Linked DNA regions of Homo sapiens: regions 2 and 3 are each linked to region 1. Evidence: promoter capture Hi-C in 16 types of primary human blood cells and fetal thymus (Javierre and others, 2016). All regions are on one chromosome and are shown on one strand. Each heading gives the region's core, a stretch centred on a gene start or on the middle of the fragment in contact. The rest is flanking DNA. Distances are from core to core; before and after follow the strand shown.

Region 1 (2,700 bases), core at 151-2,650:
TAGCTACCTTAAAAAAATAAGCAGGTCATATTAATTTTAATAGTATCTAACTCAATATATCCAAAATAGTATCATTTCAACATGTAATCATTGTAACAATTATTGATGAACTATATTACATCTTTTTTGTTTTGTGCTAAGTCTATAAAATCTTGTAGTATTTTGCACTTGTACTACATCTCAGTTTGGACAAGCCACATTTCAAGTGCTCTATAGTCATGTGGATAGTACGGTTCTAATGCAATTCTGCAATTCAGGTGTCAGAATAATATAGTGGGGCAGAAGTTTGGAGTCATTGACTTCCTGAGTCCAAATTTTGGCTCTTGAACTTACTGGTTGTCAATGACCTCTAGCCAAAAACCACCAGGAACAAATGGGGTTGATTGCTTGTTGGAGGGAGAAGACACACCATTGGGAATGGTGAGGTGTCTGGGTAAAGGGATGTTCGGACAGTTTTATTATAGGATTTGTGTTTGTGTTAGGTGACCTGGGAGAGCTTAAGGAAGAGAGGCTCTCCTGTGGACTGGATGTTGTCAGGAAATGCGTATAATTCTAAGGTTGCATATCTTAATAAATCTTATCTAAATGGAGGAAGACTAGATAGCGGTTAACATTATAATTAATAAAGAAATAAGAGTCACTCATATTAGCCAGGATAGGGGGATGTTTGGTAATTTCTGTGGCTTGTACATCGCTCATATTTTGGCCGTGTTTAGATGTGATTATGGAGTGGCCTCGTCTGATGTTTATGTTCCACAGGAAGCAAACACTTCCTAGCAACACCAAAGCTCAGCTGATAGTACCAGGCAGCTCCTGGAGATCAAGGGCTGCTTTTCTCCCTCTCATAGCTGTGCAACCTTAAGGTAGTGATCAAACTTCTCTGGTTGTTTTCTCATCTCTAAAATGGGAATACAAGAGCATCTATTTCATCTCTTAAAATTATCAGTATTAAATGAGATGCAAAGACACTGAGTTAATGCCTGGTATATGGTCACCACTCAGTGCTATCTATTGTAGTTCAAAGATTCTAAGATGCACTATATTTTTTCACATTTTAACATTTCTGAAAGTGTGTGCCTTTCAAACAATGGCTTCTTCAAATGGATGAAATGTAGTATTGTAATTTCTGAAATCTCTGGTTTGGGGGACAATTCCTTGTCCCCTCCAGGTGCTCAATTTATTCCTGGGTGAATGGCTTTACTTTTAAACCTTCCTTACTTTCCCCATTTCTCCGCAGGCGCCCCGTGGCATCCTCTCCCAGCCACAGACTTTCAGCTTGCGCGGCATCCCCAGGCAATACGGGCGGTGCGGCGGCAGCACTCGGGGGCTTACGGCGGCGCGGCGCCCAAGAGGCCCCAGCAGCCGAAGGGAAACCGGCGCGTCCCCCGCCCGCCCAGGCGTCAGCTGATGGGCTGCCTGCCGAGGAGGCCGCAGCAGTCGCCGCGCGAACATGGCGGCCGAAATCCACTCCAGGCCGCAGAGCAGCCGCCCGGTGCTGCTGAGCAAGATCGAGGGGCACCAGGACGCCGTCACGGCCGCGCTGCTCATCCCCAAGGAGGACGGCGTGATCACGGCCAGCGAGGACAGGTAGGGCCCGGGCGCAGCCGGGGCGGCCCGAACTCCGCGACGACGGGGTGTGGGGGCGGTGGGGTCCGCGGCCCCGGTCCTTCCTGCGTGAGGGGGCTCCCCCGGCAGCACGGCCCCACCCCCACTCTGCGCCCCTTAGCTCCGCCGGGTTCCCGGTTCCCTCCCGCCGGTCCTCCAGCCTCGACTTGCACCTTTCCAGCCTGGGACCCCGGTCTCGCCGCGCCCCTCCAGCCCGGATCCCCTGTCCCACCGCGCCCCTCCAGCCCGGGAACTCCGTCTCACCGCGCCGCCCAAGCCCGGGACCCTTGTTCCAACGTGTCTTTCCAGCCCAGGACCCCTGTTCCAGTGCGCCCTACCGCGCCCCTCCCAGCCCACCTCGCCCCTCCTGCTCAGGACCCCTGTTCCAATGCTCCCCAACGCGCCCCTCCAGTCCGGGACCCTTGTCCCACTGCGCCCGTCCATCCCGGGAGCTCCGTCCCACCGCGCCCCTCTAGCCCGGATCTTCTGTCCCACTGCGCCCCTCCAGCCCGGGAACTCTGTCCCACCGCGCCACTCAAGCCCGGGACCCCGGTTCCAGTGCGCCCCAACGCACCTCTCCAGCCCAGGACCTCTGTCTCACCGCGCCCCTCCAGCGCGGGAACTCTGTCTCACCGCGCTGCTCAAGCCGGGGACCCCTGTTCCAGTGCGCACCAACGCGCCCCTCCCAGCCCACCGCGCTCCTCCAACCAGGGAACCCCGACCTGCGGTGTCGCACTAGCCTGGGACCTTCGTCCCGGTCTCTCTCCCTGGCGGGGTTTAGCCTGGTACTCGGAAGGTGTTTCTTGGCCCTCCCGGGTCAGTTCCAAATCGTCTCCTCTGGAAGCGTGGAGGACCGGCGGCTGGTCACTGCGGACCCTGGTGCCCGGGGCTTGCTTCTTTGCGAGGAACTCCAGCCGCCTTCGCTCTCTTCCTCCCCCTGTACTCAGGGATTTCACGCCACGCCAGGCCTCTAGATCAGTTATTTTTGCCACGGCTGCTAGAATCACCTGAACTCTTATTTACTAAATAGGTTTTTGTGAAAGTGACTCATTTTTAAAAATATTTGGATGCATTTATTTTAAAAGGAAATCTTAT
Region 2 (2,700 bases), core at 159-2,658, 1.0 Mb after region 1:
GCTAAAAAAAAGGCGGGGGGAGGCTGTAAGGGATGTAAATCAGACACCCCTGATTTTTTGGCTTCAACAATTTGGTATGCAGCAGTGCCTTTAATAAATAGGATGAAAGGAGAGGGACAGTTTGGAAGGGGAAACTAAGAGAAGAGTAATATAATAACCAACCCACAAATCCCAGCCAAGAGACTGACCATAATTTGTTACATATAGCATGATGCAAATGTCCTAATAAATCAGAAAATAAGTTTTATACACATACACAAACAGGGTAAAAAAATGTGACTAAGAAATAACACAAAAGACGGCATTAAGAAAGAGGAAAAGAAAGCTAAGTCAACTTACAAGGACATAAATGAGTGTTTCTATTATCTTTTTGGATCAATTTAGAAGGAATGTCATAGTGAAGTCTTCTCTAAGCACCATATTACATAATCCCTCATTCTCTTCTTATTTTTATAAAATATCTAAGAAAAAATCAAGTGTTTCTGATGGCTCACAAAGTATATGAGCCAGCTTGTACTCTTTTCTGTTTCTATTTTTAGTCTTTGCAGCTTTGTTCTATTTCAGGTATACATGTATTTTAAGGTTGTCCTGAAATCATTTCACTGTTCATTTCAAGACGACGTTAGTGCAATGCATTTACTGCTGGGAACACTGGAATCAGGTGATGCTGACACAGGTTCCAGCTCTTAACTCTGCTACAGTTTTATAAAACCATATGAAACTTAAAAGGACCCTGAAAAGGCCTGCCAAGCAACCAAGTGCCTTTTGTTTTTCTGTCCCCCAAGGAAGAATCTGGTCGTAGTGAAGCTGGTGGCTACTCTACCTTGGACACAACGAGAGCAGGGTCATCGCCACTGCCTTTTTTCATCCACTCATCCTCCCCTCAGGACCTCAAAATAGACTGTTGGGATAAGATGGAAACAAAGCTTCAAAGTTCATTAATTTGAAATAAGGCTTGTGCATCTTTCCTTCAACCATATCAGATACAACATTCTGGGGTTAATCCCCAAAAGTCTTACTCAAAAAATATTTTAAATATTGCTACAACATTCGTTTTCTTTTCCAGTTGAAGATTATCTTCAAATATGGAAACTATTTAATGAAGACACACTTCACTGAGCTTGATCAGCTAGCAGGCACTAATAGCAGAAAGTACACAGCTTAACCCACCAGTTGTGAAAGTTCCCCTTTTCAACACCCTAGGCAGATGCTGCTACTGATGCAATGCAATGGGTGTAACAAGAAACCAAGAGAGGGGAAAACGAAAAAGGCCTAGCATGTTTAACATGCAGCTGAGATACCCACTCTGCAGTCTGCAGATCACTGCCACAGCTGCAACACAGAATGAACAGAAACTAAAGCCTCAGCTAACCAGCGACACTGCACACTTTCTTCTTGAGTATGGCCAAGAGAAACTACTTGTTTCATTTATTATATGCAAAATCTAAAAATTAATTCTACTTTCCCAATGAACCTAAAGAAAACTATAACATGTTCCCAAGACACAGTCTAGACACAGCCTTCTGAACAAAGTTTGATGAACCACAAATGCCAATTTCATAGCAAATGCTAGTAGGCAGATCTTCTGACATATAGAAATTCAAAACCTCCTTTTACTAACTAAATAAAACTTCACAGTAATGAACTATAGACAGAAAAAGTTGCTAAAAAACAGTCTGTCTCACCTAACTTTTATGAGTTCAAATACTTCATACTTTGTTGAATAATCATTGAATACAAAGGCACTATGGTTAAGATAAGCAGGAAAGAGCCACATACACTTACACACGCACATTTAGGAAACAACTATCATAGCTCTAGGATTTTATTTTGTCCAGTTATACTGATACACGAATTAGGAAGAAATTTCATATTCACCACATAAGCTTTTCTTCTTTTTACACAATTGAGAACTAGTTTGCTGCTGTACATACCGAATGACGACTGAAAGACAATACTAGCCACATTAAAATGAATAAAATATGTGTGGGATACCGGAGAAAAACGAAGCTTCCTGAAACATAAGACTTCTGTATATATGCTTAGACTAAAAGAGAATCCAACCTTTGAATTCAAATAGCATATCAAAGACAAAAAAATGAATCTATAAGCAGATAGAAAAGTAGAAAACTTTTGCACATAAAAATGTACTGTTTTCAGTACCTTCTCATAACTACCCGATTTCTCAAAAACAGACTCAAGAACAGAGTGCCATAAAAAGCTGTGCTGGTTGGGCGCTGTGGCTCATGCCTGTAATCCCAGCACTTTGGGAGGCCGAGGTGGGCGGATCACCTGAGGCTGGGAGTTCGAGACCAGCCTGACCAACATGGAGAAACCTTGTCTCTACTAAAAACACAAAATTAGCCGGACGTGGTGGCGCATGCCTGTAATCCCAACTACTCGGGAGGCTGAGCCAGGACAATCACTTGAACCCAGAAGGCGGACGTTGCGGTGAGCTGAGACGGCACCATTGCACTCCAGCCTGGGCAACAAGAGTGAAACTCCATCTCAAAAAAAAAAAAAAAAAAAAAGGCAGTGCCAGATATGTAAATATGACAAAAGCAAACTTCATTATGATAAAATGTTTTGGAAATTACAATCCATAGGCTGGAAAAGAAAAATCAAACATGCTTAACTCATGATTTCAATTTCTAGAAATGTGCTATTAACTTCAGCGAGATCTTAAATAGAAAAAAATTC
Region 3 (2,700 bases), core at 77-2,576, 1.3 Mb after region 1:
CGAGATGGCGCCACTGCACTCCAGCGTGGGCAACAAGAGTGAAACTCCGTCTCAAAGATAATAATAATAATAATAATAATAATAATAATAATAAACAAATTCCAGGATGGAGCCTGGGCATCTGCACTTTTTAGAAGCTTCTCCAGTGATTCTCATCTAGAGCCAGGGTTGAGAACCACTGATTCAGGCTTTCGAAATGTAAAAGCAGTTTTAAAAGTGTAAAACTCTCCAATGCAATGGGCTTATTACTATTATTACCACCCCAACGCTGTACAATCCATGATCTTACAGCATACACATGATCTTAGTCTTCAGAAGAGTTTATGTTTCAATAGAAGGGTCTCCCCCAAATTCCTCCCTCCTCCCACATCACCCCTATTTACTTCAAGAGCAGAACAAATATGAAGGAAAAAACAAAAAACAAAAAGAAAAACCACCCACGTTTTTGCCCCATCTAATGATTCGGCTCGTGTATGTTTCATGGGCTCAACTTGGGAACCAACTGGAACACACACGCTACTGAGTCAAACTATTTCCAGAGAGAAACCGCTCAACCAAATGCAATGAGTGGTGCAGCCTTCTTTACAGAAAGGTACTGCTATGCATCCAGGAAATCTCCAAAACGGGAAAGGGAACACTGCTCTTTGTCAGGAGGGTGGGGAGACAAAGAGGGAGAAGGAACAAGGTTTTAACTACTGAGGCATTACTTTGCCATCTATGAATCAACAGTTCGAGAAACGAGTTTGCCAACTTTTGAGGGGTTAAAGTGCTCATGCGTTCGATGGGGTCATGGTTACATTTTGGTAGATACAGTCGCCAAAAGTCATCGAGCTGTATCCGTATAACTGCGCCTTTTATTGTAGGCAAGGTGCACCTCAATTTAAAAAAGTAACGCAGGAGAAAATAAAATTAAACAGTCGTTAGCGATGAGGTTCTCGTGAGGAAACCAGAGTCCACGTTAGCTCCAAATGCCCTCTTTGACCTGCCTGCTCTGGCCGACAGGGGAACGAGGGTTGGAAGGTTCTATGCAGGTCCTGGAATCCGGACCGTCCCGAGGGAGGATATGGAGCCCAAGCCCCGCGGCCCGGGGGGCGGGGTCCTTACCGAGCAGCAGGTATTTCAGGACCCACTGCAGCACGGCCACCGTCTGCAGCCGCCGCGCCAGCTGGATGTTGAGCGGTGCAAACTCTACCTTCATGGCCTGGCCGGGCGAGGACGGCGCCAGCCACTGCAGCCTGCACCCACGCTGCTCTGCGGCGCCTGTGGGAAGTGCCCGGCCGGATCCGGGCCCCGCGCTGGGCACTGGCTGGGCGGAGAGGAAAAGGCAGAGGCTAGGCAGCGAGCGGGGACCCAACTGCGCCCTGGGTGGGAGGGCGCGCTGGGCTGAGGCTGGGGGCAGCCAATCACAAGCGCCGGGCGCCAGAGCTGGCCCAGCGCCCTGGCCCCGGAGCAGCTACAGCGGCCCGGGCGCATTGGCTGGCGCGCCGGGCGTTGGCGAGAGTGCGCCGCGTGGGACACGAGGGACGGGGAGAGGGGTCAACTGGCAGCCAGCCCGAGCCGGGCAGCGCGGGCTCCTGCCGCCTGGCTGAGGACCTGGGATCTCCACCAGGATCTGACCATTGTTCAGCTGATCGATCACCCAGCGCTTGCCTTCAGCATCCCACCCCTTCATTCGAACCCTCGGTGATTGGGGAAGGGTTAGTTTGAGGAATCGCACACCAGCTGGAGAGATGAGCGAGACTTGTTTCTTAGTTTATTGATCTGTGTCCCCCCGCAACCTCCAATTTCCCCGCGGATGGGGAAGGGGACCTGGCTTCCTCACTCTTGGGTCCTCAGTTCCCTACAGGAGCTCCGGGAATCTTTCACCCATTCATTCATTCAACCCACATTTATTGAGCACTTGCCACTTGCTGAGCACCATCCGGGCGCTTGGATAACCAAGCTGTCAAGCGCATCCGTGTGAAGAGACCACCAACAGGCATTGTGTGAGCAACAAGGCTGTTTATTCACTTAGGTGCAAGTCAGCTGAGTCCGAAAAAGAGTCAGCGAAGGGAGATGGGGAAGGGGTTGCTTTATAGGAGTTGTCTAGGTAATGGAAAATTACAGTAGAAGGTGGTTATCTATTGTTAGCAGAGGAAGGGGTCACAAGGTACAGGGTGGGGAGATCATAAGACTCATTGTCCAGAAGAAGAATGTCACAAAGTCGATTGATCGGCTAAGGTAGGGCAGGGACAAGTCACAATGGTAAAATGTTGTAATGTTGGTTAATCAGTTAAGGCAGGAACTGGCTGTTTTACTTCTTTGCGTTTTTTTTGGCTGCTCCAGGCTTCTTGGCTCCTGCAGGCCACCTGGATGTGTACATGCAGGTCACAGAGGTTATAATGGCTGAGCTTTGGCTCAGAGGCCTGACACAAGCTATTCATTGTCTTGTTCTCAGAGTACAGGGGGAAACAGACATAAGCAAAACAACTACACAATTTGGTGTATAATTACAAGTAAGACCCTACTGTGAATGACTAGAAGATTCCAAAACCAAGACTGCTGCACGGTCAGGGAAGTGTCTGAAGAAGTGCCCTTACTTGAGCTGTAGCCAAATCTAGTTAACCCAGGAGTCATCCGGGCAAAGGGAAGCACATATGCAAAGGTCCTGTGGCTGAACTCCAAGAAGAGCTCAAAGAGTGAGAGCTTGGGGGACAAGGG

The links. Contacts are between HindIII fragments. The CHiCAGO score rates a contact against its expected background, and 5 or more counts as called.
Region 2: a contact is called between a fragment that was not itself captured here and the fragment with the promoter of WDFY1 in region 1, in 2 of 17 cell types (M0 macrophages and total B cells). The highest score is 7.0, in M0 macrophages.
Region 3: the fragment with the promoter of MOGAT1 here is called in contact with the fragment with the promoter of WDFY1 in region 1 in 4 of 17 cell types (M0 macrophages, M1 macrophages, M2 macrophages and 1 more); the score reaches 17.7 in M0 macrophages.

What each region holds. Positions count from the first base shown.
Region 1 is chr2:223,944,035-223,946,734 of GRCh38, reverse strand. It overlaps WDFY1 (WD repeat and FYVE domain containing 1), which reads left to right and starts at 1,400. Exons shown (of 12, transcript NM_020830.5): 1 at 1,400-1,587. The coding sequence starts at 1,451. LOC124907989 (a long non-coding RNA gene) reads right to left here. Exons shown (of 2, transcript XR_007088100.1): 1 at 2,328-2,700. RefSeq lists a silencer at 1,649-1,828 and enhancers at 2,399-2,458, 2,469-2,588. The HindIII fragment of the contact is 5,306 bases long and covers 1-2,700 here.
Region 2 is chr2:222,910,877-222,913,576 of GRCh38, reverse strand. The region is part of intron 4 of ACSL3 (acyl-CoA synthetase long chain family member 3); the gene reads right to left. Among named protein-coding and RNA genes, the nearest start is that of ACSL3-AS1, 7.4 kb to the left of the region's middle. The HindIII fragment of the contact is 960 bases long and covers 929-1,888 here.
Region 3 is chr2:222,670,284-222,672,983 of GRCh38, reverse strand. MOGAT1 (monoacylglycerol O-acyltransferase 1) reads right to left here and starts at 1,326. Exons shown (of 6, transcript NM_058165.3): 1 at 1,105-1,326. The coding sequence starts at 1,198. It overlaps LOC124907985 (a long non-coding RNA gene), which reads right to left. Exons shown (of 2, transcript XR_007088095.1): 2 at 1,982-2,348. The HindIII fragment of the contact is 3,409 bases long and covers 140-2,700 here.